4 separate regions of the Homo sapiens genome follow, and regions 1, 2 and 4 are each linked to region 3. The links are contacts of gene promoters, found by promoter capture Hi-C in human tissues and cell types (Jung and others, 2019). All regions are on one chromosome and are shown on one strand. Each heading gives the region's core, a stretch centred on a gene start or on the middle of the fragment in contact. The rest is flanking DNA. Distances are from core to core; before and after follow the strand shown.

Region 1 (4,380 bases), core at 94-2,593, 330 kb before region 3:
AAGAAACAAAAACTTCTCTCTGTCTAGACTTCATCTGTCCAGAACTAAACCTCATCTCCCAGGGCCATCGCAAGAGTGATAATTAGGATGAGTTGCAAGGTGGCTATCTGCCAACTCCATCTCATCATCAGCTTTCACTCACTCCCATCTCTCCTATGCCACCTTCACTGCTTTCAGCAGCTGAAAATAACGAGACAGGAAACTGAGAAATTACCTAGCAGATCATATTAGATTCAGCTGTTCACCTTCATGAGGCTCAATCGGATCAATCGCAAATTTTGAGTGATCACTGATGAGAAAGTGACAAGTGGTTTTAAACTGTCCTCAACAAACCAGTCTCTCTAGCTAGTCATTAATGACACCTCAGTAGGCAGTGATATTTGAAATAAAAGGTTGTTTAAGATTTATGTTTCCCAATCTACTACCATGAGAAAGAGCCATTCTTGATGCAACTGAGTAAAGGGCATCCAGTGAAACATCAACTAGTTTTGAAAATGTTTTTCGTGTCCCTTTGGTCTAGCAATGGCTCAGCCTAGTATTTCCTAAAGTGTGAGAGCCATCTCATTTGCAGTGTCCAAGAACATTTTCAGTAGCATATGGACAAAATGTTGTAGAATGGTTATGTATTATTTTTCATATTTTAGAAAAAAAGTATAATTCTACATTAAGCCCATGATTTCATAAGTATTATTTATTAAGATGAGGCTACAATAAAAAGTAAGTTGATACAAAGAAAAATATTAAGTAAATAATAGTACAGGTGCTTGTGGATATGGCGAAAACATAAAAAGGTGGCATGTCAATGACTCAGGCTGAGCAAAAATGCTATTTATTTATTTATTTAGAGATAGGGCCTTGCTCTGTCATCCACGCTGGAGTACAGTAGTGTGATCATGGCTCACTGCAACCTGGAACTTCTGGGTTAAAGTGATCCTCCCACCTCAGCCTTCTGAGTAGTGGAGACTATAGGTGCATGCCATTGCACCCAGCTAATTTAAAAAAAAAAAAAAAACTTTAGTAGAGACAAGATTTCTCCACGTTGCTCACGCTGGTCTCAAACTCCTGAGCTCAAGTGATCCCCTTACCTCAACCTCCCAAAGTGCTGAGATTACAGGCATGAGCCACTGCACCTGGCCCAATGCTCTTTATTGGCTCCTACTCCCTAGGGCAAAGATCCCTAGGATTACCAAAAGAGTTTGCTCATCCTACTTTAGTTGAGCTAACAGAATGGCTGAACTCAACGTTTTTGAGTCATTCAGATTATCTGACTATGAACTTCACATTTGATGAGCTGGGTTTTTTTTGTTTTTTTTTTTTTTTGGTTTTTGAGACGGAGTCTCTCTCTGTCACCCAGGCTGGAGTGCAGTGGCGCGATCTCGGCTCACTGCAAGCTCTGCCTCCTGGGTTCACGCCATTCTCCTGCCTCAGCCTCCCGAGTAGCTAGGACTACAGGCACCCGCCACCACGCCCAGCGAATTTTTTGTATTTTCAGTAGAGACGGGGTTTCACCGTGTTAGCCAGGATGGTCTTGATCTCCTGACCTCGTGATCCACCCACCTCAGCCTCCCAAAGTGCTGGGATTAGAGGCGTGAGCCACCACACCTGGCCTCATGAGCTGTTTTTGAGGGGCAGATAAAAACAGAAATATCTTGATTCTTATGGTTATGCTCAGGCAGGAGACAAAAGGATTAGTGGATAATAACACGTTCTTATGGCAGTACCTCAACAAAAAAGGTTCAAAAGTGTCCCAATTTGTAGAGAACATGGGGACAGGTCTTTCAGATCAAGGGTGCTCCTAACTAGATATATAGTGCCCTCTATATAATAGGTTATATTTGAATAAGTGAATGACTACCCATATCTTAACTTTGTGAGTATCATAAAATAATATCAACCGTAGAAGTTCACATCTAGGTGCAAAGAAACTGTAACTCTAGGAATGACACCTACCTGAGGCACGGTCTTCACTTGGAACAGTATATTATGGAAGGAGTGTCCATCATTGGCCTGCAAGACTGCAACATCGGATGTGCTGTCTGAACCATCATGAGCATAGTGGAGAAGGCCTCTAGAGAGTTCATCCAGCTGGAATTGATAGATAGGGGTTGCCGGGGACTGAAGTGTCTGAAGCAATTGGCCATGAAGTGGAGGATCGATTATTTCAATGACCACATCCTGTGGGTTGTCATCATCTCGGATGTCAAGCATCTGGGTGGTGATGGTTGCCCTCTCTCCTCTGCTAATGTGGAGAACTTCATTTCTCAGCACATAGGGGGCCTGTGGAGTTGAAGGGAAGAAGAGTCAGTTAAGAGGGAAAGAAAGGACAATCCAGTGGACTAGATACCTGATTGTTATTCCTATACTTTTTGAGAAACTCTAAGTGTTCTAGCAAAGCACCAAACTGTTCTATGGTGAACACATTCGTCAGAGGTGTGGTCACTCACAGGAACACAACAACTAAGGTTACTTCACACCTCTGGGTTCTAGAGGTTTATCAAGCTACTTCAAGACTTGAGAGACAACTGGTGAGAGCTGCTAGCTTCTAAATCTCTAATTTCTCTGCTATCCTGACTTAAATTTATCCCAAAAGAGACTAATAAGAGGTATGAAATTTTTGGACTTGCCTTTGGGAGGACACACTTCACTCCAGGCCATGTTGTGGTATACTGACTCTGAGGAAGCTACTTTTGCATCCTGAGCTCATGCTGTTTCTAGTCCCTCCCAGTAATTTTCTTCAGTTTTCTCATCCAAATCTTGACAGAGCCCCACCCCAACTCAGGTTATAAAGTGTGCCAAGATTATGGTCTAGGTGAGTAAGGCAACCACCTGGCTAATTCATGTGACAAGGCTAATATATTATAGTAAAATTTAATATCTTTTTCTTAGGATTGTCAGGTTACCTCCCACCAAGTTGAGTAAGCAAATAAAATGTTATTTCATAAAGATAAAAGCTAATGAACCACAACAGAAAAAAAACTCACCCAAAAAAATTGAGGCCAGAAGCCAAAGAAAATATTATTTCAGTTTTTAAAAAAATATCATTTGAAGTGGAACCATCTAGGACTTTTCTCAACACACTGCTTTCTTTAATCCAAATGGCTTTCTTTTAAAACTACCCAAGCACCCTCCTGGCCTCCTGGAAATTACAATCTCTATTAAAGGAATGTCTAATACATCACTATAATAGTTACATAGTGGGAAATTAGATGATAGTTAGTCTTTAGAATTCTCAAGTGAGAATTCTACAGCTGTGATTCTATACATGGGAAAGAGTGACCCCTCCTACTCTGAAAGAGGAAAAGTCAAAGATGATGTCAAAATTCACAAATGGAAAAGACGAAATTAACTTGCATGAGAAAATTTCAGAGAGGCTCAAGACCATATTGCAATGTCACAGAAATTTAAAGGAATGAAAATAAGTTAAAATGATTTTCTAAAATTCCATTTTAAAGACTTAAAATGATAAAAGTTTCTCATATAATAAATAAAATTAAATGTTCTCCTTATTTACTCACTTGATTGTGGAAAAACACACAAGCCACACTTGGGGAACCATGGGAACTCACCATGTCAGATTAGGAAGACTTGCCAATATCTACCTTTGATCTTTCACTGGAGTAACTTTATTAGCTCAAACAAAAAGAACGAAACAAAGTTTCTGAGTGTAAGGACTGAGAAACATCTAAACCAGTAAGTTGTAAGACTGGATGTAGCCCTCTGTCCTAAATTTACAGAGATCACCTGTTTCAGCTTTTTTTTTTTTTTTTTAGACAGAGTCTCACTCTGTTGCCCAGGCTGGAGTGCAGTGGCACGATCTCAGCTCACTGCAACCTCTGCCTCCCGGGTTCAAGCGAGTCTCCTGCCTCAGCCTCCCGAGTAGCTGGGATTACAGGTGTCCACCACCATGCCCGGCTAATTTTTGTATTTTCAGTAGAGACGCGGTTTCACCATGTTTGCCAGGCTGGTCTCGAACTTCTGACCTCAGGTGACCATGCATTTCAGCCTCCCAAATTGCTGGGATTACAGGCATAAGCCACTGAGCCCAGCCTGTTTTAGTTTTAATTAAAACAAAATTTATATATTTTGCCCACCCATGAGATCAAATTAACTTAGGATCATTTTCAAATCATTAAACTCCAATTTATCCCTGATGTGATAATACCATCAAGAAGAGGTGAACTGGGCTATTAATACCATTTTGCAGCCACCACTGGTTCAAGTCTATGTTGTTATCCATGATCCTTTCATTTTTGGACCAAAGATATAAAAACATCAGATGAAAAACAATCATCTAGTGTCCTTCCTTGAATCATGAATAACATGATACTGAGATCTGGATATTTAGCTAGTCTTGGTTCCCCAGGAGAATATTCCACTCTC
Region 2 (4,543 bases), core at 1,733-4,232, 310 kb before region 3:
AGGCTGGTCTTGAACTCACGACCTCAGGTGATCTGTCTGCCTCCGCCTCCCAAACTGTTGGGATTACAGACGTGAGCCACCATTCCTGGCCTAAGCAACTATTATTATTATTATTATTATTATTATTATTATTATTATTAGTCCTTGGCTCTCAGTACTGTTTTGCTGAAATGTCAACCTTTCGTGGTTCATCAAGTCAGTTTTCAGTCCCCCAGGAATACTCCTAGGAATGCTCTCTGTGCACTTTTGATGGGAATTTCAGGGTCTGAGAATTTTGTAGTGTTCAGTTGAGGCTAAAAGGGATACTAGGCCAGAGACAGATGATTGTGAGCTATATGGTATACAGAGGGTTGAAGGGGGCAGATAGTGAAATAATCGGGTCTTCCTATGTGCCCAAATGCCCAGGGTACAAACACCTTCCCACCTGGAGGACCTGACTGTTCAATTTTTAAGAAAATCTGAAAGTAACAGCTAACACATACCTGTTTGTGTGGTCCTATATGCCCAAGATTCCCATATTGCCCTCAAATTTTAGCAAATGTCTTATTAAGGCATGGAAGATGAAAAGGGGAAATTTTCATGATAACAAAGATAGCTCTTAGGAAAGAAACCAGAAATGGGGTAAAAAGCCAGAAGGGGAAACTTGCCACTGTTTCCTTCTGAGAACAGTACAAATCAGAGGTGGCCAAGGTATGGCTGAGCACAGAGCAGGGCCTCTACACACTTACTCTTGCAGAGGCCCGAGTCCTGGTAAAATGATGACAAGCACTGCTCCACGCAGGCCCCATCCTGGAGAACATAGCCATCCATGCACTGCAGGCAGTCTGTTTTCAGGGGCCCACTGCATGCACTGCAGCTCCAATCACACTCTAAAAAGAAAGTCTGCATTAGATTATCTTCCTTTCTGTCCACCCTCAGACCCAGCAGTTCATTTATGAGGACTCTGTCTGCAGCTGCAAGGAGTAAAATAAGGACAACGTAAGAGATGTCAGATAAGTAGGCTCAAATGAGGTTTCCACTTGTAGTAGCCTGAATGCTTCTCTGAGGTTTAAGTGTTCCCTAATTATGTTAGACACGGACATGTACAAGGAGCACTCTATGCTTGTGCTGAGCCTGCTTGTTGGCAGGGCTGCTGAGAAACCAGATCACTCTGGTCTTAGTTCTTTATCCCTGTGCCATATCAAGTCTTCATGCAAAACCTGCCGCAGGGAGTGGCCAACTTGCCCCACAAACCTAACCCTGACTTCTTCCAAATACTCAATGCTCAATAGGTAAAGAGATGTCAGACACTCAACTAAGAATGCATCTGCTGCCACCAATAACACCAGCTGCATGGGTTTCTATCTCTCAAAACCAGGCATTGACCAAAGTGACAGAAAGAACCAATGATGTCAGAATTATATGGGGCATAAAGGTGCTGTCCAGAAAGAAAGAGGTTGCTAAAACAATAGAAGGTCTCATTTAGGCATTAGAACGGACTCAATTACATGTTAATTTGCTCCATAAGCACCTATGGGATAGTCACTGAACAGCAGGAGGGGGCAATATAAAGGTGGTAGGTGTAGAACTTGTCATCAAGGAGCTTATGTTCTAGAGGGGTCTAACCTTGAATGTGCATGCAAATAATCCAGGGGGGTTGTTAAAAAATATGGATTAGGCTCAGCATCAGATTTATCAAATCAGAGTCTCAGGGGTTGGGTTGGGGCACAGGAAAACATGTTGCTGCTGTACTTGTTATTGTGAATATTATAGTTGTTGCTGTTGCTGTTGTTTTTAATGGCCCAGGCAATTCTGACGCAGTCAGAAAACTCATGTTTGAAAGCCAGTGTTGTAGCTGGTAAGGGAAGTGCTACCTGCATGGAAGATGGGATGGGATAGCACAGTTAAGTGCATGGGTTTTGAAGAAAGGTAAGTCTGTATTCAAGTCATGGCTTTGCTACTTTTTCTCTATATTATCCTACAATCATGTTTTTATCTATATTATCCTGGTTTCTCACCTGTAAAACATGGGTGAGAATAGTACCCATTTCATAATGTTAAGAAGAATAAAATGTGAAGAATAAAATGAAATAATGAATTTAAATAATTTAGCACAGTGCCTGGCATATAGTAACAACTCAATAAATGTTTGCTGCTGAACTGTTTCTCTTAGAGAACCTATCTCCATTCAGGGCCACCCTCGATCTCACCTTCCATTCCTGCTAAGAAACTGGAGAAACCTCTCATTAGTTACCTTTTCTCTTCCTTGGTAGAATATTTCTAAGTCCCAAAGAAATCAGGTAAATGTGCAAGACAGTACACGTGCTTCCAAGATTTACAAAGTTAATCCTATTCCTTTATTTAGCTGAATCAGTCCTGAGGGAAAATGACTAAAACAGAGCCTTGAAAACTGCCAGCACAGTTATGAAATCATTTATAATGGAGTGGATTTGTGATAATCTTGTTTTTCACCACAAACTGACAGCTACTGGTTAGAAGGCAAAAAAAAAAAAAAACAAAAAAACAGAAAAAAAATTCTGTGGTCTCGAGCACAGCAGACCACCTAAGTTGACAACGAAGTAGAATTTCTTGGAATGGAAAGTGTGCAATTTTGCAGAGCCTTAAAGCATCCTAAGTTTACTTGACAGATGTTTGACCACCATATCCAAGCTCTAGCTTCTCTGCCAGAATCAGAGGGATAGAGAGAAATGTGGAAGGAGTCAGGAATGAGGAAATGGACAGGAGCAAGTAAAACCTGTTCTTTACCTTTGCTTTCCTGTTGCTGAGCACTACCATTCAAAGTGTGTAAGCCCCGAGAATTCCAACTACTGGAGAGCAAAGAAAAAGGCACTTGGCATTTGACATTATCTCCTTATAAATTTCCTTGAAGACAGGGACTACGTCTTCACTCATTTAAGTATGTTAAGCAGAGATGAACACATCAGACACGACTCCTGACCTTATCAAGCTTGGAGGTAGCAATCTCAAGTTGTAAATGCAAACACCTACAGCCCAGGAAAGTAATGTATCTTCAGAATAGGCCTTGTGTGATAGAAAGGGAATGGTGGGGACTGCTGAACTGAAGAGATCCTGTTCCATCCAGCAGGGACGACAGCTACACCGTTTCAACCTACGGTTGCACTGTCAGGATACATATCCAACATTACTAGAGCTTCACTGTCAGGATACATATCCAACATTACCAGAGCTTCTGGTTAAGAAAAAACCAACAACACTTGAAAATCTCAATTTTTGTATGTGAAATCTTCTGATTTTTAAAAGGCAAATAATTAAAGATTTTAAAGCATTGAAACATTAAGTAGACAAAGAAAACATGTCTATGGGCCATATATAACCTGAGGATTTACAATTTGCCACCTCTGGTCTTGTTATCAAGACGTGGCACAACATCTGACACAAATAGGTGCTCAAAAATATATGCTTAATAAGTAAATAAAGGAGTGAATTAATGAATATATACATACACACACAATTGTTGCTATCATCAGAGACAGTCAAAATATATGATGACTGGTGTTTTCCCAATATGGAAAACTAGACATCAGTAGTAAAGTGGTATCACTGTGTAAAAGAATCTTTACACAATTCAGGAAGAGCTTTACCTTTGCACGTGTTGGTGGAGAAGTCAAGATAGTACTGTGGGGCGCAGCTCTCGTATTGACATTCCCCAAAGAGCAGAACCTTGTTTGGATCTCGGCAGGAGGTACAGCTGGCCTGTGAATCACAGCTTCCACAGTGTGTGTTGCATGCTGAGCAGACAGGAAAAGAAAATGACCAGATGATTACAATTGCAAATACTGAAGCACTGATCAAACCTAGACAGATGTTGCATAGGAACAAAGCCTTGTTCCAACCTGCTCTACATTTCATTATGGCTCATAGCCCTCCCCTGTGATCAACAAAAACAGAAAATATTAGTTTCCGAAATAGAAAAGGGTAATCTTATTTTACAAAGAATATAAAGTGCAAACCCAATAATGGAAATCCCATATCCAAATTGCTCTGTGATTCAGCAACAGAATTTATGCTTACTCTAAGATCCCTGGAATTATAGTTCAGAACTTAAACCTTACTTCTTCAGGAATCAAGCCCCCTTAAGTTCATAATGTAGATTCAGGTTTTTGTGTGATGGCAACATTAAAATTAGGCACCAACTTTATTGGGGAGCTTGGGAAATCCCATACTTTAAGATACAAAGGACTTGAAGGTGAACTGGTTTATTGATTTGCCTAGTTACAACTCTTAGAACCCAGCCACATAACTCTGACATTCAGGGATGATCCCCCAATCTGGTCATGCTTCCATCTTCCCTTATTTAACAACTGGCATTTCTCCATCTACACAGTTGTTCATGCCAGAAACCTCCAAGTCTATCTTGACACCTCTCTTTCCCTGACTCCTAATCCAGTTACTCACTGGATCCTATTTATTCAAACTCTCCGATATAACTCTCAGAACTTTTTGCTTTTTTCCATATCCACAAATGCCAATATTTCTAAGCCATCATCATCCCCTGCTGAACTACTATCACAGCCTCCTAATT
Region 3 (4,526 bases), core at 1,814-4,313:
CAAAAGAAGTATACATGTGAATGTCTCTTTTCTATTTTTAAAAATTATTCTCTAGGCTGATAATAAAAACTTGAGGAGATTTCTAAGATCCTTGAGGTTTCCAACCTTGATCTCAATGCTCTTATTTTTTAAAGAAAAAGAAAACCTTGAGAGGACCAAACCAGAGGTCTCATCAGATGACAAATGTTTTTTTGTCTGTGGGAGTGATATCACTTAATTAAACTAATTAAATGAGATAAAGTATGTAAAGTGCTTAGCAAAGAGCCAGGCAAACAATACCTGCTCAATAAATGGCCATGTTCATTCATTCATTCATTCATTATTAGATAAGCACCATTATGACGTGGGTGGAAACTCAGACATCTATCAATTTATCAATCCAATTTGTGAAACAGCTATAGAATGCTCTGACAGTAAAGTCAAACAATAAGAAGCAAAGTTTCCAAAGACTCTTTGGAGTAATATCCACACCCTCTCTCCGCCCCCGCCCCCGCCCCCCGTCTCTACCCCCAGCTTTCTGTGCTTCACATCCCCCCATCCCCACCTCCCAGTCTAGATTCCGCACTTCTTAAACTTGGCCCACTGGATCAAGCAATCTGCCAAAGAGCGCACCCTGCAGGCTCTTAATAATAATGCCTTTTGTTGATTTCAGAGTTTTGGTTCCGACAAGCTGCACCATTCCAACTGCCCCCTGGTGAGCTATCCGGGAGTGATAGCACGTTTCCTGCGTTGCTGGGATAGGACTCTAAATTTTAAAAACTGCCACCAAGTGAAATTAATTTTTCTAAGTACCAAGTTCAGGTTTGGGTGGCCTGGGGTGACTCTCTCATCTGGTTTATTGTTATAATCAAGCCCTACAAGCTTTTTTTTTTTTTTTCCAAAGTACGCGCCCACACGCACATAAACAATAAAGTTATATTTCTACAGGACTTGCACTGTTGGGAGAAGGCTGCACAGGCCCCAGATGTGCCTTTCGCGGAGATTATACACACTTGACACACATCCCGGAAGAGTGCAGAAGGCAGCACCTGGACCCACGGGAAAGTCCCCCACCCTTGTGCGTGGATTCCCAAGGCCTTTCTCTTGGGAAGCCAGCAAAGAAAAGGCAGCTGCTCCAGTGACTGGAGGTCGACCCGAGGCAGAGCTTTGTCCTCCCCGGGCCTCCCGCAGCCCCCAGTCCTGCGCCAGAGCTCGACTCCCGGGAGCCGCCCCGCGCCCCTTCCTAGGCACCAGGGCGGAGAAGGCGGCCCGCCCTGCGCCCGCCGCCGCCGCCCAGCCGCGGCTCTGGTTTGCGGCTGGGCAGGTGAACTCTTCTTCCCGCAGCTGGATGAATAATGAATGGAGCCGGGAGGGGAAGCCGAGAGCCAGGCGCTGTGGATTAAGCCGTCTTCCTCCCAGCCCGCCGGCTCCCTTCCCCCTCCCTAAGCACTGGCGGGGCGACTTCCCTGGCTCCTCGGAGCAGGAGGGAGCTCACAGCGCCTCGCGTCCCCAGGCCCGGCATCCCATGACCCCAAACTCTTGATTTACTTATTGACTCATTTATTTGGCTGAGCCCGGATTGCATTTGATATCATGGCGACAACTAGTCTCACGGCTTCCTTTTCTCTCCTGCGGCTCCGGGGTTTTACAGGTAGCTTGGAGCCTCGGAGGAAAACCAGGAGGCGGAGGGTGAAGTAAAAGAATGAACCTAAACTCTTATTAACCACTTTTGTTCTGGGAAGCAGGCTGGTTCGTGCTTCTCCGTACTGGAGAGATTTCTTTCAGTGCAACTGAACTGCCCACGACCAGAACACGCTCCAACCAGTTAGTTATAAAATCCTAACTGGACTTTAGGGGGAGACTAACTGAGGTAAGGAGGGCGGGAGAGCGATGGGGCTTTAAGATGAAAGACTGTATGTTTCTTAGGAACAGAAGTATTTTTAAACAGGTAAGAGCAATTGTTCGCTCCTCACCTGTGCTCCATGCAGTTGCTTTCCCTTCGGGGAAAGGTAGGTGGTGGAAAGAAAAAGGATCAGTTTCAGAGATGTCACCTCCATCGGCCACCCACCCACCCAAAAGCACTTAGGGCAGAGAGGGAGGCCGTTTCGGGGGTGTAATCCGAATACAAAACAATCAGGAGTAGGAATCTTATCAGAAAAAGCCTATTCCAGTTTCACTTCCACCTCACCCTTCCCAGAAAAACTTCCACCTCACCGAAATACCATAAAACCTGCTGAGATTTTTAAACTGCACGATCACTCACACATACACACACACACGCACACGCACACACACACACACACGCGGCACCGCTCTCTCACCTTCGGAATGATGAGGCAATACTGCAAATTCCGCCAACGCTAGGGCCAGCCCGAGCCACACTTTGAGGACACCCATCGCCGCCTCGGCACCCACGATGGAGGAGCCCAGCCTTCAGCATCCAAGAAGCGGCTCCGCCAAAACGCTGGCTCCGGCGCTTGGAACCCGGGCGCACTGAAGGTGGGGGACCGCGGGCCTTTACCTCCGGGAAAAAGAGATGGACGGGCGGAGAGCGACACTCATCAGCCCGGAGGCGCCGGAGCGGGCTGGGGTTCAATTCACTCGCTGCTCAGGCAGAGAGCGCGCCGAGTTCCCCCGCAAGGCAGGACGCCAACGTGAGCTTTGGGAGAATAAGAGGAGGCAGAGCACAGTTCTCCGCGTCAAAATCTCGCCGGAAAGTTGCTGGTCACTGGCCGATGGGATCTTCCAGCATTTCCCTCGGGCTAGACCCTTCCGATCCCGGGTCCCCGACAGTGGAAATCCTGGCTCTGGTTTGTCCGAAGCAGCTTTTTAAAGTTCGCTTGGCACCATACGTCGGCGTTGCGTCGGCACCGCGGGTCGCCGGGAGCCCCGAAAGACCCACCCACACCCACTCCTTGGTCGAGCCACCCGGCTCGGCAGACCTCATCTGCCGGGGTCCGCTCGCTGGAAACTGTGCAGCGCTGAGGGCAGCTCCGGGGACTCGCCCGCCCTGCAGCCGCACCGCACCACACCGCCTCAGGCTGCGCTCCCTGAAGCAGACTGTTCGGAAGCTTCAGAGGAAAGACTGGGGGGCGCTGCTGCTACTTTCTCGTCCCCGCCCCTCGCCTGGGTGAGGAGGGCTGCGGGGACGCGGCTTGCTGCACACCAACACCCACCTCCGCGCTGAACACCCCGGAGGAGGTCTGCAGGGTAGAGGTGCAATGATTACGGGAGTGGAAGAAGAGCCATAATTTTAATTGCACGGAGGAAAAAGCTAGCGAGGCTGGAAAAGACCCCCAAACTCAAGGCCACTCTGGCGAGAGAGCCTGGAAACGCCCAAAATACGCCGGGTCTGGACCCCGTGTTTAAAGGACACACGTTCAGCCTTCCTCTAGTCTCCCTTGCCTCCTTCCTCTCTGCTTTGCTCGGTGTGAAAATGGACCCAGAGACTCGGAGCTTTGGCGAAATTCCAGAGAGTCACGTGGGGAAAGGGAGAAGCGAGGAGGGAGGTGAGGGGAGGCCGGGAGAGCAACCTGATCCCTTTATTCATTCTGCTGGAGTTCAGATTGGCTTTGTCTGGGGAGGAATCAAAAGTGCTCATACCGGGGACGGAGGGGGTGGAGATAGGTTGCACAGTTCTTGCTCAGGCACACCGGAAGGCAGATGAACCGTGTCCACATCCCTTGTTAGGGGAGGAACCGATTCGGCGGGCTGGGGGAGCGTGTGCCCACATCAAAGGCCCTGGGGCTACCTCCCACCCCCACAGCCCGCCACTCCTGCTGAACTAAGTGCGTCCGGGGGACCTGATTGATCCTTCTTCCTCGCTCTGGGACCCTCAGGCTGTTGCATCCTGGCTTTTACCAGCAGCCCGGGAAGATCTTGGTGTGTGTGTCCTAGGCGGAGCCTGAGAGCAAATGCACCTTTCCCTTTCCCTAGGAGACTCTGTCAGTGGAACACAACGCGGTCTGGGAGCTGTGGGTCCAGCTGCGCCCCCAGATGCCAATGGCTGGGAAAGTAACATCAGGACACGGCCGACTGGGGCGCGCACTTGAAGAGCAGAGGCCTTGATTCCCCGCCAGGACTGACTGACGGCAGCTATTTTTATAGGACCGAATAAAAATAGCTGGTCCACGTTTAATCGTTTTATAAGGGAACAGTTGCATCAGAGAGATGCTGACTGGGTTCTGATTGGCCCAGAGAAGAAACGTCTCGGGTCCCTCAATTGAGTCGGGATGGGCGAAACTGTTGGAGGGGAAGCAGTTGCATGAGCTGTGCTGGCGGGGGTCCCACTTGTTTCCAGTCTTCACGAACACCATGACGCGGGCCCACGTTCTAACGTGCACTGACGCCACTTGGAACAATTCACTTTTCCGAATAACTGGAATAACTTGAAACTGGCAGGTCCCTGTCAGTGTTACTATTCAGCCAGAACAAAGGAGAACCTCTGACAACCTGGCTCTGAATCTTAAGTATTTGGAGGACCCAGGGTTTGCACATTTCGCCCTCAGTCTCTCTGTTGGGCTGTGGTCATTCTAGGGACAGAGGTT
Region 4 (4,557 bases), core at 1,525-4,024, 460 kb before region 3:
CTTTTTATGTAAGCAGTTATAAAATAAACAAATATAAAAATAAGTGGAAAAGACGTTTGTGGAACAATAAAGGAAATATGAATAGAGACTGGATATTATTGAATCAATGCTAAATATCGTAGAAGTGATCATGATGTTGTGATTCTATAAGAGAATGTCCTTGTTCTTAGGAGATGTCAACTGAAGTATTTTGGGTAACTTGACACGAAGTCTGCAACTTGTTTCTGAACGGTGTGACAAAAAAAGATATGTATGGATGGATGTATGTGCACATGGATGTATAGCAAAATGTTAATCATTGTTGACTGTTTTTTACTGTTCTATTCTTTCAACTTTCTGTATGTGTGAAATGTTTCTTAATAAAAAGTTGGAAAAAAAAAACGGCATTGATATTACCTCTGAATTTGGCATGGGTCTTGAATTCAATGACAAGACGGCCATCCTCTCGAATGTAGATTCTTATTATCTGAAGCCTTGCAGAGAGCACGCTGTCTGTCTGGATTCCTGGGCAGGAAAGCAGAGAGAAAATGCTAGGGCATGGAAAATTCCTCCCTGACAGCAACCACATATAAGTTATCCCAAGGACACCTCCAAGTATAGCTGCACATTTATTTGAATGTAACAAGATAACATTTATATGTCTATAGAAACATATGCCAATTAAAATTGTATGACAGCTAATTTCACTTGGTTCTTTTTTTTTTTGTAATGGTTCCACTGTTCTTGACATAGACTTTTCAAACCTGTAAGTTCCACTTAACCCAGATGCAGGGTTCAGCAAAAAAATGAATCTTAAAACTTCTTACTATCAAACTTTACACCAGGGTATGGTTACAGCACATCTGCTTCTTATTATACTTTCTTTTCCTCGCCAAGATACCTTTCCGGACTTAACAGAGGTATAAACAAAGTCCTGGTGGCTACATTTAGTACTCAAACCAAAGGAGAATTAAAGCCAGCTTGTAGAAAGCCAACATGACACAAGAAAGCTGTGGCTTTAATAAAGGAAATTGTAGTCATGGTCCCCAGTGAGTTCAGAAAGAACAAAACCAAAGAGTAACGTAAGGATTAGAAACATGAACTTGAACAAAACAAAACAAAAACAAGAGCTCAAGGAATTATCTGACCCAGAGTGGGAAAGCTGCCTGAAGTTATTTTCCCATGAGAAATATAAAGCCAAAAATGATTTGAGCCTAAGACATTTCACAGAAGAAAGGACTACACTGCCAGCCCTTTGTATCTGTAGGTTCTACATCATGGATTCTGCATCTGTGGATTCACCCAACCTCAAATAGAAAATATAAGAATAAAAATGCATCTGCACTAAACATATAGATTTTTTTGTCATTATTTCCTAAACAATATAGCATAACAACTATTTATATAGCATATGCATTGTATTAGGTTTATAAATAATCTAGAGATGATTTAAAGCATAAGGGAGTATATGTATAGGTTATATGTAAATACTACACCATTTTATATGAGGGACTTGAGCATCCTCAGATCTTGGTGTCTGTGGGAGGTCCTGGAACCAAACACTAATAGATATGAATGATGACTGTAATTTCAATTAGTAGAGATGAAGCTTTCTCAAAAGAAAACTCTTGTATTTTTTTTAGTATGTTTGCCCCAGATAAAGCACCTCACCCCTGAAGAGGAAAACAGGGAGGATGGGAGCAGCAGAATTTAGGGGAAATGGGTTTGGGGAAATAGGTTAGGGGTAGTGTGTGAAGTACAGGACACTAAAAATGAGGAAAAAAAAAAAAACAAGAAAAACAAAAATAACCAAGAACGATTGGAGAGAACGGAGGAGAAAATTGGGGAGTTTTAAGGAGCATCTATGTGGAAGCAGTAGGAGGAGGTAGGTGTGGAAACTGAGTGGGGGTGAGGTGTGGAAACTGAGTGGGGGTGAGGTGTGGGCTCCCAGCTGAAGGGCTGCCTCCCACTTAGTTCTTGGAGGCTCCTCCCAAAGAGGACAGTAATGGGGATGAGCCTGAGGGAAAGGTCATTTTAAACATTCAGTATCACAGCCCTTGACTTCGGAAGGTTAAAATCCCTTCTTTGGAGGATGCAATTAAAGAGCAGACTCTTTGCCAAATGAATAAAGTGGGCTACTTGACATAAATATTTCAAGTGCTCTTGACACATTTTTCCATTTCCTTGCATCTGATTTGAAGATCCTTTTGCTCTGTAAAAACAAGAACCACACAATTTTTCACTAGGAGAAAATGAAAATCATTTGGGTTATATTCCAAAAGAACACACACCCATCTGAATCCCTAACGGGCAGTAGAGGACTCATTTGTCACTTGCCATCCTCTACGCTGGGACCTTAGCTATCTGGGCTGAGACCTTCCAGCATCAGGACAGAAGGACATCATTCTTTTCAGGAACCACAGATCTGCACTTTGAGGTGGCCCCACTTTGTCTTCGGGATAACAGGATGAGAAATGCAGCTACTGTTAAAAGTCACTACTCTTCTTTTAATCTTGCTTGAGTGAAGCCCTAACTAAAGGGATAGTTAAGGCGTCAGTGGGCATACCTGTTCTCCAGAGAACAGTGTCATAGAAGAAAGAAAACTCCATCTCGGTGTGGTGCTCCAAGGAGGCCCAGCCCCTGGGGGCTGTCACATAGATGTAGGACACATATAGAGGCACGTGCACTGTCAAGAAGGACTGGGCAGAGTCCCTCACCTGCCGAGGAAGCAGTATGCACACAGAGTTATTTCTCCCCTGGGATGAAAAGACATACTATCACCACATCTTGGTTCCATTTTCATTCACCCATGTAGTCACACACTTATTCAATAATTATTAAGCAAGTGCCCATGATTGCACTTACTTATTTAAAAAAATAAAGGAACTAATGGAATAGAAAGCAGCCGGGATGCTTCTTTCGACAGGGTCACGTGCAGAGGCTTCTCTAAGGAGGTGGCACTTGAACAAAAATACTTTTGAAGTGGGAGAATGAGCTCTGTTCAGTTGCTAGAAGATTTGGCTGAAATTTGAGAATATCACAATTATTCTCAAGGATCAACCCGGTGGATGTGGGATCTACCACTCAGTACAAACTCCCTGTATTGATCATTTGCCAGTGACCTGTGGGAGAGCCCAAGTCAACCATCATCAGGAAGATGCCCACATCCAGACGCCTGGGAGGAGCCTGTGCCTAACTCAGGATGTTTTAGTGAGTGCTCTCATCTCCTGCTCCAGGAACAAAGGGCCGGAGCATTGAAATCATATATAGGAAGCTCACCAATGGACAGCTCAGAGCTGCACGTACTTCAGTAATTTCCTGTCCCATGCTATGCTTTGGAAAGAGTTTTGAAAAGGCAGCATATCACATTTCCAAGAGAACATTTCTTCTAAGGAAGTTTGTGTTCCTGCTTTTAATTTGGCCCAATCATTTTCATTTTACTATGTAATGAACAAAACTGGATGGAAAGATAACAGAATGGTAGCAGAAGCTTTTGTGGTGAAGCTAGCTGTATATGTGTGTGTGAATGGGGAGTTAGTTCACACATTTTTAAAATATTTTTATACTTTTTTCCACAAATAAATAAATAAATAAATATATATATATATATATATATATATATATACACAACAAAAAAACTTAGCTTAAAACAATTTTATTTTATCATTGGCTAATTACTATAATATACTATGGGACTTATATTTTTCTTTTGTTTGAAAATACAGTATAAAGTGTTTCTATGGGTAATTAAGGAAAAAACCAAATGTTTTAATATTTTTCTAAAGTTTTTTTTTAATATTCAAAGTTGTCAGGGATTTAAAATTTGATGCCAACTTTCTCAAAAGACTCAACTAACTCCATACTCATTGAAAAATTCCATTTTGACATGCCTTACTTTGTTTGTTTGTTTGTTTGTTTGTTTGTTTTTCAAGAGATGGGGTCTCTCTCTGTAGCCCAGACTAGAATGCAGTGACTCCATCATAGCTCACTGCAGCTTCAACTTCCTGGCCTCCAGTGATCCTCCAGCCTCAGCCTCCCAAAGTACTGAGATTACAGGTATGAGCCACTGTTCCCAGCCCCTCTTTTTGTTCTTTTTAAAGAAAATTTCCAGATTGTATTTGGACCTTGTACCATGTTCTGTCCCTTATACACAGGTTTTGCTAAATACACCTGCTCCAATCACACTATCAGAACTTCAATAAAATCTCTAGCTGATTGGCAAAATTAATTTTTCCTCATTTGTTTTTGTTTATCCTCCTTTAGCCCTCATGATATTACTCACTAATCTTTAAAAAGAAAAAAAAACCCAACAAATATTTACTGCATGCCTATTCTACACCAGGCACACTGTGCAAGGCACCTTCTCATGTTGAGATTATTAGTACAATTTCAGAAGAGGTTCAGAGAGGTTATGTCTTGTCCAAGCCTGTTGATTGACAGCAAAAGGTACCAACTAGGCCTTAGTTCTAAGTTCTATATTCTTCCTATCATACGTCAGTAATTTCAATTATTTTCAAAGAAACAGACAACAACAAAATACTTCTGTGCATGTTTTTTCTGTGTTGGTTTAAAAGTGGG

The links. Contacts are between HindIII fragments. The study calls those that stand out against the background at their distance.
Region 1: a fragment that was not itself captured here is called in contact with the fragment with the promoter of FRAS1 in region 3 in 1 of the 25 tissues and cell types used here (mesendoderm cells).
Region 2: a fragment that was not itself captured here is called in contact with the fragment with the promoter of FRAS1 in region 3 in 1 of the 25 tissues and cell types used here (mesendoderm cells).
Region 4: a fragment that was not itself captured here is called in contact with the fragment with the promoter of FRAS1 in region 3 in 1 of the 25 tissues and cell types used here (dorsolateral prefrontal cortex).

Annotation. Positions count from the first base shown.
Region 1 is chr4:78,385,272-78,389,651 of GRCh38, reverse strand. It overlaps FRAS1 (Fraser extracellular matrix complex subunit 1), which reads right to left. Exons shown (of 74, transcript NM_025074.7): 29 at 1,951-2,277. Among named protein-coding and RNA genes, the nearest start is that of SNORD161, 98 kb to the right of the region's middle. The HindIII fragment of the contact is 4,635 bases long and covers 1-3,660 here.
Region 2 is chr4:78,369,044-78,373,586 of GRCh38, reverse strand. FRAS1 (Fraser extracellular matrix complex subunit 1) reads right to left here. Exons shown (of 74, transcript NM_025074.7): 23 at 3,603-3,749; 24 at 729-869. Among named protein-coding and RNA genes, the nearest start is that of SNORD161, 82 kb to the right of the region's middle. The HindIII fragment of the contact is 6,572 bases long and covers 1-4,543 here.
Region 3 is chr4:78,055,860-78,060,385 of GRCh38, reverse strand. It overlaps FRAS1 (Fraser extracellular matrix complex subunit 1), which reads right to left and starts at 3,063. Exons shown (of 74, transcript NM_025074.7): 1 at 2,301-3,063. The coding sequence starts at 2,376. RefSeq lists an enhancer at 3,506-4,477. The HindIII fragment of the contact is 7,312 bases long and covers 307-4,526 here.
Region 4 is chr4:78,517,470-78,522,026 of GRCh38, reverse strand. It overlaps FRAS1 (Fraser extracellular matrix complex subunit 1), which reads right to left. Exons shown (of 74, transcript NM_025074.7): 67 at 2,546-2,696; 68 at 397-504. Among named protein-coding and RNA genes, the nearest start is that of ANXA3, 32 kb to the left of the region's middle. The HindIII fragment of the contact is 4,460 bases long and covers 545-4,557 here.